2 separate regions of the Homo sapiens genome follow, and region 2 is linked to region 1. The links are contacts of gene promoters, found by promoter capture Hi-C in human tissues and cell types (Jung and others, 2019). All regions are on one chromosome and are shown on one strand. The core of a region is centred on a gene start or on the middle of the fragment in contact, and the rest is flanking DNA. Distances in the headings are between cores, read along the strand shown. Region 1 holds the start of B3GNT2 (UDP-GlcNAc:betaGal beta-1,3-N-acetylglucosaminyltransferase 2). Region 2 overlaps EHBP1 (EH domain binding protein 1).

Region 1 (4,482 bases), core at 613-3,112:
TTCTTAAAATCTAATCTGGTTTAAGAGCGCATGGGCTCCGAGTAAAACTCTCCCAAATTCCTCCAGGCTTAACCACCCTCTACTCAAAAGAACCAGGAGCAGGAGTTAGGACAATGGGAAGTGACCGCCCTGCCCTGCCCTGCCGGTCCTCCCTCCGGGTCAGCTGTCAGATCCGCATGGGTGCGACTATAAGCCGGCACCGGAGCCCCGGGACTGGCTCGGCCAGGGTCCCCGCCTTTTCACTCCCAGTCCCGGCCCTGTCGGCCACCTCGTTTACCACCTCCAGAGGCACAAATAATTATACCGGAAGAATTTGTTTTAACAAGTAGAATTCTATATTCACCAACTGGCTTCGCTATCGGATATTACGGTAGGGTTCCAACAAGAGAAGGGCAAAAGAATATAGTTTAATTGTTCTAAACAATCTTTCTGAGAAGTTGGGGTGGCTGAGGCGGCCACGGGGATACAGCTCAGGCACCTGTGAGCTAAGCCCACTCTACAAACTAACCACCCCTACGTTTTGGGCAGAAGAGCGCCGCCTCGCCAACCCAGGTTATAAATGTACATATTTTTAAAGATGAGCTTTGACGCTGTGACACTTGTGGGGAGTCTCCCGACGGCTCCTCTACTTGATGGGGGTACAGGGAGTTCTGCGGCTCCCCAGCCCCGAGTTTCAAATACCGTGGCCTGGAAATTAACCGGGTGACTCGGTTTATTGCCTCCAGAAGGGTCCGCCTGCCGTGCTGGAGTAGCCGCCAGTCCCGCGCCCGCAGCCCCGGCAGGGCCCCCCACGCCCACCTTCCCACGAGGGGTGTCTCGTAGAGTCCGGCTTCAGGCGCTCCCTGGCCTGGCAGCACCCACCCCACCCCGCCCCACCCCACCCCCACGACTCGGGCTAGCAGCCTGGTTAATCATTCAACGCAAACAGTGTGGAATATTTTTTTTAAAAGGTCAAAGCGAAAGGTTTTCCCTAAGTTTGGCAGAAACCAGTTTTGGGGGAGCCGGAGACAGAAGTGGCAGAGGTTGGGGGTGGGGGGTGGGGAGCGGCTGCCGGCGGCTCTTTGGCTCACAAAACACCTGATCTCCCCATGCGGCACGGGAGGCCGGCGCAGTGCGAGGGTGGGGTGCGGGGGTGCGAGCGAGGAATCACGCGCGCCCCCCTCCCCGAAATGCCCGCGCGCCCCGGATGAGGAGGCCCGGCCCCAGATGCCCCTTGCCAAAGCCCGCATCGCCCCGGCGCCGGATCCCCCGGAAGTTGGGGTGCAGCGAGGAGGGGGAAGGTCCCCGGGCTCCAGGGCGAGGTGGGCACGGAATGGGTTGGGAGGTTCCAAAGCCCCGCAGCGGGCGGTGTCCCTCTCCTCTCCCTCTGGGCTGAGGTTGGGTGGCTGGGACGGCGGGAAGGTAAGGGAGGCTTAAATGCGGCAGGAGCCACCTAGGGACGGCTTCCTCCACCGGGGCGCGGGTACGAAGCCGGAACCGGCGAGGAACCGGGCGGGGGTAGCAGGGTGTCCGGAAGGTGGGGCCGGGAAGCAGGGAGGCGGAAGGGGACTGGTAGAGGGGCCTGGCGGTGAGAGGGCAGCGGGGAGGGAGCCGGCGGGGGTGCTCGGCGCCCGGGCCCTACCTTGTCCGGGAGCAGCTCCAGCTCGGCGGGGCGGGGGCAAGGGCGGGAGATCGCGGCCACATCCACGTCCCGGCCGCTCCGCGCGGCTCAGCCCGGCGACCGCCGCAGCTCACGCTCCATGCGCGGCGCCCCGGACGGGCGGCCCGGCGGTGTCGGCGGCAGGGACTGCTCCGGCTTGGCTCTGCTAGCCTCCGGCACTTGTTGCCGCTGCTGCCGCTGCCGCTGCGCCTCACTCCAGGCTCCGGTTCCAGGCGCAGCAGCCGCCGCGGGCGCCCGGCCCCGCCCCTCCCCTGCCCGCCCGCCAATGGGGCCCGGCCCCGCCCCTCACGTCACCGCCCGACGGCCCCGCCCCGCGCCCCAAGTTTTGGGAGGGTTCCGCTCTCCCCACCCGGTACCAGGACCCACCCGGGCCCGCGCTCCCTGCGGCTTCCAGGGACCCTCCAGCCCCCACGCACCCTCCTGCAAAGCCGAGGGTTAAGCTGGGGAAAGGGGGCCTCTAGGAAGGCGACCCCCCTGGAAATGCCTGGCAGCTCCAAAAACACTAATGAAACTCAGCTCCAGCCTCCGCCCCTCCAGTTGTGGGTGGCCCCTCTTGCGGTTCGTCTGAGGCTAGGGGACTAGGCGCATCGCCTAGCGAGACTCCAGTGGCCTTTTCTGTCCAGTTTGTAACCGGAACTAGACCGACCCCGGCCGCCCCCTCCAGTGCTGGGGCGGGTGAGGAATGGCCCCGCCGGGGAGGCGGGGGAGGGAGGCCTGGGCCACCCTGGGGTCTGACCTTTGCTCCACCTCTTAGGTGCTCACGACCCAGAGTGGTGCCCTGCTTGGTACTGCCACTGGATCCTCTGGCTTATGAAGCCGTCCAGGACAGGAAGGGTGGGGGGTGGTCCTTAGTTCTCTTCGTGGGGTCATGCAGAGTGGTTTCCTCGAGGTCCCACGCCCGTCTCAGGAAGCCAGAAACGCAAGATGCCGGGCGCTCGGCCCGAACCCGTGCCGCGGCCCAAGGGGCAAGGCGGATACCGAGGCAAGGCCTAAAGGGCCGGACTCTGACCGCACCCTCCGGACACTGCAGGGCTCCGCCGGCCAGAGGCGGCCTTGGCGCCAACCACACCTAGCAGCGGGGTCCCCGGGCCCACCGATGCGCCCTCCTAGCCCCGCGCTCCTTCGAGGGGTTCCAAGGTGACTCAGAGACGCAGCTGACACAATTCTGAGGCCCCCAGGTAAGCCTGGCGATACCGGATGGAGAAGTTACCTGGTCTTGAAAGGCCCAGTCCAGCCAGCGAGACCCGCGTGCGCTCCGCGGGGAGGCAAGCCTAACCAGGGGCTCACCTGGAAGCGTCCCCGCCCCCTGGTCCTTATCTCTGAATCGAAACCGAACCTGGACCCATCTAGATAATTGGACTGAGCAATTAAGGACGCTTCGCTCCTAACTGTTAGCATTTTTTCCTAAGGCTCTCGGAGGCGGAATCAGCTGGAAAGGAACATTGCTAAGTAGGAATTTCAGGCACCTGTGAACTGAGCCCACTCAATAATCGGCCCTTTCCCTTAACCAAACTCAGCAAAGGAAGAAAGACCAAGTTGCTGCGGATGCACAGAGCCACGTGGGTGCGGGTCCTCTAGAAACAGGAATTCAGAGTCAGTAGATATGGAAATGTTATGGTTTGCAGTCTTCGGACCATGCTGCTTTCATGCTGTTCACATGATTCTCCTCGGACTGCGAGGTAAAGTCCAAGAAACAAGTCGAATGTTTGTATTTTCATAGAAAAAACATCTGTAAGGGTGCACACCGACTGTTAACCACGGTTACGCGGGGAGGGGAAACAAGGGAGTTACATTTTTTTACTCCCTTGACTTTGGATTTTGTATTTTTCCAGTTGTATTTACTTTCATAATTTAGAAAGCTAATAAAACATGTTTAAAGAAACAGAAGCTAGAAATTCTCTAAGAACTCTAGGAAGTAGAGGCCGGGCGCGGTGGCTCACGCCTGTAATCCCAGCACTTTGGGAGGCCGAGGCGGGTGGATCACAAGGTCAGGAGTTCGAGACCTGTCTGGCCAACATGGTGAAACCCTGTTTCTACTAAAAATACAAAAATTAATGGTGACATGTACCTGTAATCCCAGCCACTTGGGAGGCTGAGGCAGGACAATCGCCGAACTCAGGGAGGCGGAGGTTGCAGTAAGCCGAAATCGTGCCACTGTACTCCAGCCTGGGTGACAGAGTGAGACTCTGTCTCAAAAAAAAAAAAAGAACTCTAGGGAGTATAAATTAATAAATGAAGTCTATGTCTTCATTCTGTATCAAAATAATATTGAGTCCATGTTCCTGGGTTTAAATAAAGATATCTCTAGGCTGCTGTCTGATATTTAAATGCAGTGTTGAGACAAAGCGGACATCTAAGGAAGATTTTCTGTGCCATCAGATTGGTATATTGTTTCCATGCATATGTGTCTTCCCTTTAAATGCACTCCCTGTAGCCACAGACATGCTTGCAAGAACGGCCAGCCAAGGAGTTTATAGTAAAGGAGCTGCTACAATGTCAGCTGGCAACCAACTAGGAAATTAAGCTTGTGTCCCTCGCTGCCCAAGGCTGCCCAGGCCATGAAATTTAAAAATAAGGGTATTCTTAGGCCAGGCACGGTGGCTCATGCCTGTAATCCCAGTACCTTGGGAGGCCAAGGTGGGCGGATCACTTGAGGTCAGGAGTTCAAGACCACCCTGGCCAACATGGTAAAACCCCGTCTCTACAAAAAATACAAAAAAATTAGCCAGGTGTGGTGGTGGACACCTGTAGTCCCAGCTACTTGGCAGGCTGAGGCAGGAGAATTGCTTGAACTCGGGAGGTGGAGGTTGCACTGAGCCGAG
Region 2 (4,160 bases), core at 138-2,637, 550 kb before region 1:
ATTTTAAATACAGAAAATTGTAGGATTTCAATTAAAACTAATAAAGTTTTCTTTATACAGGTCTACTTGTAGAAAAACCAACATTCAATAAACATTCTTGTGGTCATTGTATACTAATAAAAAATATAGTCACATTTATTTTAGAACAGAATTTTGTTTTTAGAGACAGTCTCACTCTGTCACCCAGGCTGGAGGGCAGTGGCACAATCTTAGCTCAATAAAGCTTCAAACTCCTGGGCTCAAGCAATCCTCTCATCTCAACCTCTTCAGTAGCTGGGACTACAGGTGCATCACCACACTTGGCTAATTTTGTTTTTGTTTTTGTTTTTGTAGATATGGGGTCTCACTATGTTTCCCAGGCTGGTCTTAAATTCCTAGCCTCAAGCGATCCTCCTGCCTTGGCCTCCCAAAGTGCCAGGATTACAGGCGTAAGGATAGAATCTGGCCAGGATAGAATTTTTTAAATATCTGTAGAACTGTTATTGAATATTATAAAATTCGGTTCCACTCCCCACAAACAAAATTATCAGTACCAAAAGAAATTAAAATCTTTGAAAAATCCAACTCCTCTTCTGCACCCCAGCAACAGACTCAGATAACTCGTAACTTCTTAAGTGTGCCCTAACTTCGTCATCTTGTAATCTAAATAAATTAATCTTAGGTACAATTTTGTAAGTGGTACCTGTTTAATCATTAATTCTTAACACTGTAGTACAGAGAAGTAACTTAACTATTATGTTATTCAAGGCTACTGTCTCAGTCCATTTGTGTTGGTGTAACAACATGCCGCAGACTGAGTAATAAATAAAGAGCAGAAATCTATTTTCTCACAGTTCTAAGGGCTAGAAGTTCAAGATCAAGGCATCGGCATCTGGTGAGGGCCTTCTTAGTGCATCCTCATGTGGCAGAAGGCAGAGGGCAAAAAGGAAACAAACTCCCTCTATCAAGTCCTTTTATAAGGATGCCTAATTGAATTCACAAGGGAGAAGTCCTTACCCTAATCACTTCTTAAAGGCCCCCCACCTCCTTATATTAGGTTGGTGCAAAAGTAACTGCAGTTTTTGCTATTACTTTTAAGGCAAAACCGCAATTACTTTTGCACCAACCTATTCTATTACATTGGCAACACCTGATTTTTTTCAAACCATAGTAATTACCAAATCCAAGACCAAAACTCAGGTATCTGGCTCCCGTTTTGAGAACAAGCAGTTAAAAGATTATAGCATCTGATCAATCCATTTTCAGTAGACAATCAAGAAAAAAAAACAAAACATCAAGTAATATTTTAAAATATTCTACACTGGAACCAGAGCAGTTTGCTAATTTGTATTCAACAATTAGGTAAGAAATTTAGAAAATACACTAACCTTAGAAGACTTCCTTCGGCTTCTTCTGGTCCAAACTACCACCAGTTTATCTGGTTGCCTGCCAAACAAAAAAAAAGTTAAACATAATTTATCTTAAATAAATAAAGTTTCATTTTAGCGCCTTTAAAAGGGCAAAAATGTCATCTGCTTTAGGCTACATAAAGCAGCTACTGTTACAATAAAGCTCTATCAAATATAGTAGATGTTAACTACAGATGTGACCTAATTTGCATAACTAATATTTCCTCCATGTCCTTTTCCAACAATACTTTAGCAAGTTAAATCACAGGGACAAACCAAGTAAAATAAAATATTTAGAACTGGTCTATTTTAAAAAGAAAAAAAGCACACACATATCTTCTCCATAAATTAACACCATACTTCTAACACATTATTCCCTTTAATGTGAAGTAAACAAGCATAAAAAGGGCACTTGCAAAATAATTTAAATCTATGAATTCACTACTTTTGCATCTCTGTATCTCATGAACAATGCTTGTGGTTTTTAAAACATTATTATAGCCAATCATCTCAATCTTCATTAAAAACAATACGGTACTGAAAAAATAGGCAAGGTATATACTATTATCCCTATTTTAGTTAAGCTTAAAAGACTATTAAGTTAAATAATCAAAAGCTCTGGCAGAACCAAGACTGAAATACAGGTCTTCTAATCTCAGATTTCTCTTCTCTATCTTCCACTAATATAAAGTCAAACAAAAATAATACATTTTCAGGTAAAATTAGGTTCGTGCAAAAGTAACTGTGGTTTTTCCCATTCCTTTTAACGACTAAAACCGCAATTACTTCTGCATCAACCTAATATAACTAAGTTCTCTTTTGTTCTTATGAAAAACATCAAGATTATGATTATCACTTATTTTACTTAAATTTTCATTTTAAAAAATCTTAGATAAAAGCTTCTTAACCAAGAAATGAAAGTCATACTCATCTTGTTGACCTTCACCACTTTCTATGTCCTGTTCATTTTACACTGGAATCCCGTGCTTTCAGCAGATAACCTTTCCTCCTATTTCATTTAATTAAATACATATATATATATACACACACATAAGAGGCCTCCAGCCTTAAACTCCTCACTCAGCGATCCACCTACAAACCTATACTGCTATCTAGAGAGAGTTATACCAATGGAAAAACAAACAACCGTTAAAAGAAAAACAAAAAAAACACCTTGTTCAACACAGAAACCTGCACTAGGACAATTCCAGTGAGTAAGAATGGAGTGCGGTATAACAACATGATAGATGGGGTTGGGAAGAAGGTATGATCTATGATGGCAAGTTAACAAGAGGAGAACAGTAGCCAACAAATGTAAGCTACCTCATTTGAAAACATTGATGGCTTGCCAGAACATTTTACCTAGATTACTGCACTAACCTCTTCACTTATGCTCTCATCTCCACAGCTCCAGCACAATTTCAACTCTGAAATTATATTTCGACAGTACTTTTATAGAAATGCTATCTTACAGTTTTTCCTTGTTTATCATCCTATGCTGGGCTCTTAAATTGAAGGTACCACCAACTGGCCCTTGCAGGTTGAATTTTACAGGTTTACTTGACTGAAAGAGTATTCTATTTTATTTTAAACTTAAACTCTTTTAAAAAGTTCTTATTTAAATGCCTTTAAACAAGGCCTATGCTGTCCAGATTAGGAGAGCCTCCAACACTACCAACTGCTTCACACCTGACCAGCTTCACTCCTTAAAATGATCTATCTAGACCCTATGTGCATTTGGCCCTGTGACACCCTTGTTTCTCAACACGGCTTGTAAGGCATTTCACTCACCACTTGACTCTGATCTATCTCTCTAGCTGTATAACCTGCAAATATCTCATAGGCATCTTGCTCTATAACCAACCCCTGAACACATATTTCTTCATTTCTTCACATCTTTGCAATGTTACAATGTTTAAAAAAACACACACACAAAAAAACTTCCTCTTCCATTTTTCTACCTAGTAAACCCCTAATTTATCACTTTCTCTGTGTAACCCTGACCATTTCTCATGTCATCTCCTGCCCCATCCCCTCCCACCCATTCCATATTCTAAGCCTCAGAGTTAATTACACCTGTGTTCCCAATAACAACCTAGACACACCTATTTTCTATTTTAATACTCTATACACCTTGCATTGTAAGTATTTATTATTTCTGTCTCTCACACTAGACTGCACTATTTTATCAACCACGTCTTATTTATCTTTGTAATCCTACCAACTAATAATCTAGTACAAGGTTGAGGTTCAATGAATATGCGGCACTGAATAAACCTTAAGTTTCATCCAGGAACTCCCAATTGGTTAATTATAATTGATGAGGTCCAACTGAAGCCAGTAGCTATATAATACATCATCTCTGCAACTCATCCAAGCTTTGCAGGGATCCTTATTCTTGCTGCACATTAAAATAAAAACTCTAGGGAAGCGTTTCTAAATACTGATACCTAGGTTCCAGCCCTGGATAATCTGATTTAATTGGTCTGGTGTGCAGTTTTTTAAATTTCACAGGTGACTCTAATGTGCAGCCAAGGCTGACAACCACTGTTTGACTTGAAAGTCTAGTGAGGCATTACCTGTGATGGCAATGAGAGTGTGTCCCCTACACAACATCCTCCTAGTGCCACCTGAACTGTTGCCTCATTCTAATGCTTAGCACCCTCCTGCCACTTAACGCATCTCAGTGCTTCAGAAAATGAAAGCTTTTTAGCATAAAAAAGCAAGAAGGGCGGTCTCCTAAGCTGTATATATGCCTGATGTTCCAAGAAT

The links. Contacts are between HindIII fragments. The study calls those that stand out against the background at their distance.
Region 2: a fragment that was not itself captured here is called in contact with the fragment with the promoter of B3GNT2 in region 1 in 1 of the 25 tissues and cell types used here (bladder).

The regions. Positions count from the first base shown.
Region 1 is chr2:62,193,495-62,197,976 of GRCh38, reverse strand. It overlaps B3GNT2 (UDP-GlcNAc:betaGal beta-1,3-N-acetylglucosaminyltransferase 2), which reads right to left and starts at 1,862. Exons shown (of 2, transcript NM_006577.6): 1 at 1,622-1,862. It overlaps LOC124906013 (a long non-coding RNA gene), which reads left to right and starts at 1,964. Exons shown (of 2, transcript XR_007086336.1): 1 at 1,964-2,838; 2 at 3,070-3,988. RefSeq lists enhancers at 467-576, 1,557-2,163, 2,770-3,377 and silencers at 987-1,336, 1,517-1,956, 2,247-2,476. The HindIII fragment of the contact is 18,752 bases long and covers 1-4,482 here.
Region 2 is chr2:62,744,660-62,748,819 of GRCh38, reverse strand. It overlaps EHBP1 (EH domain binding protein 1), which reads right to left. Exons shown (of 23, transcript NM_001142616.3): 3 at 1,368-1,425. Among named protein-coding and RNA genes, the nearest start is that of EHBP1, 41 kb to the right of the region's middle. The HindIII fragment of the contact is 5,086 bases long and covers 1-3,930 here.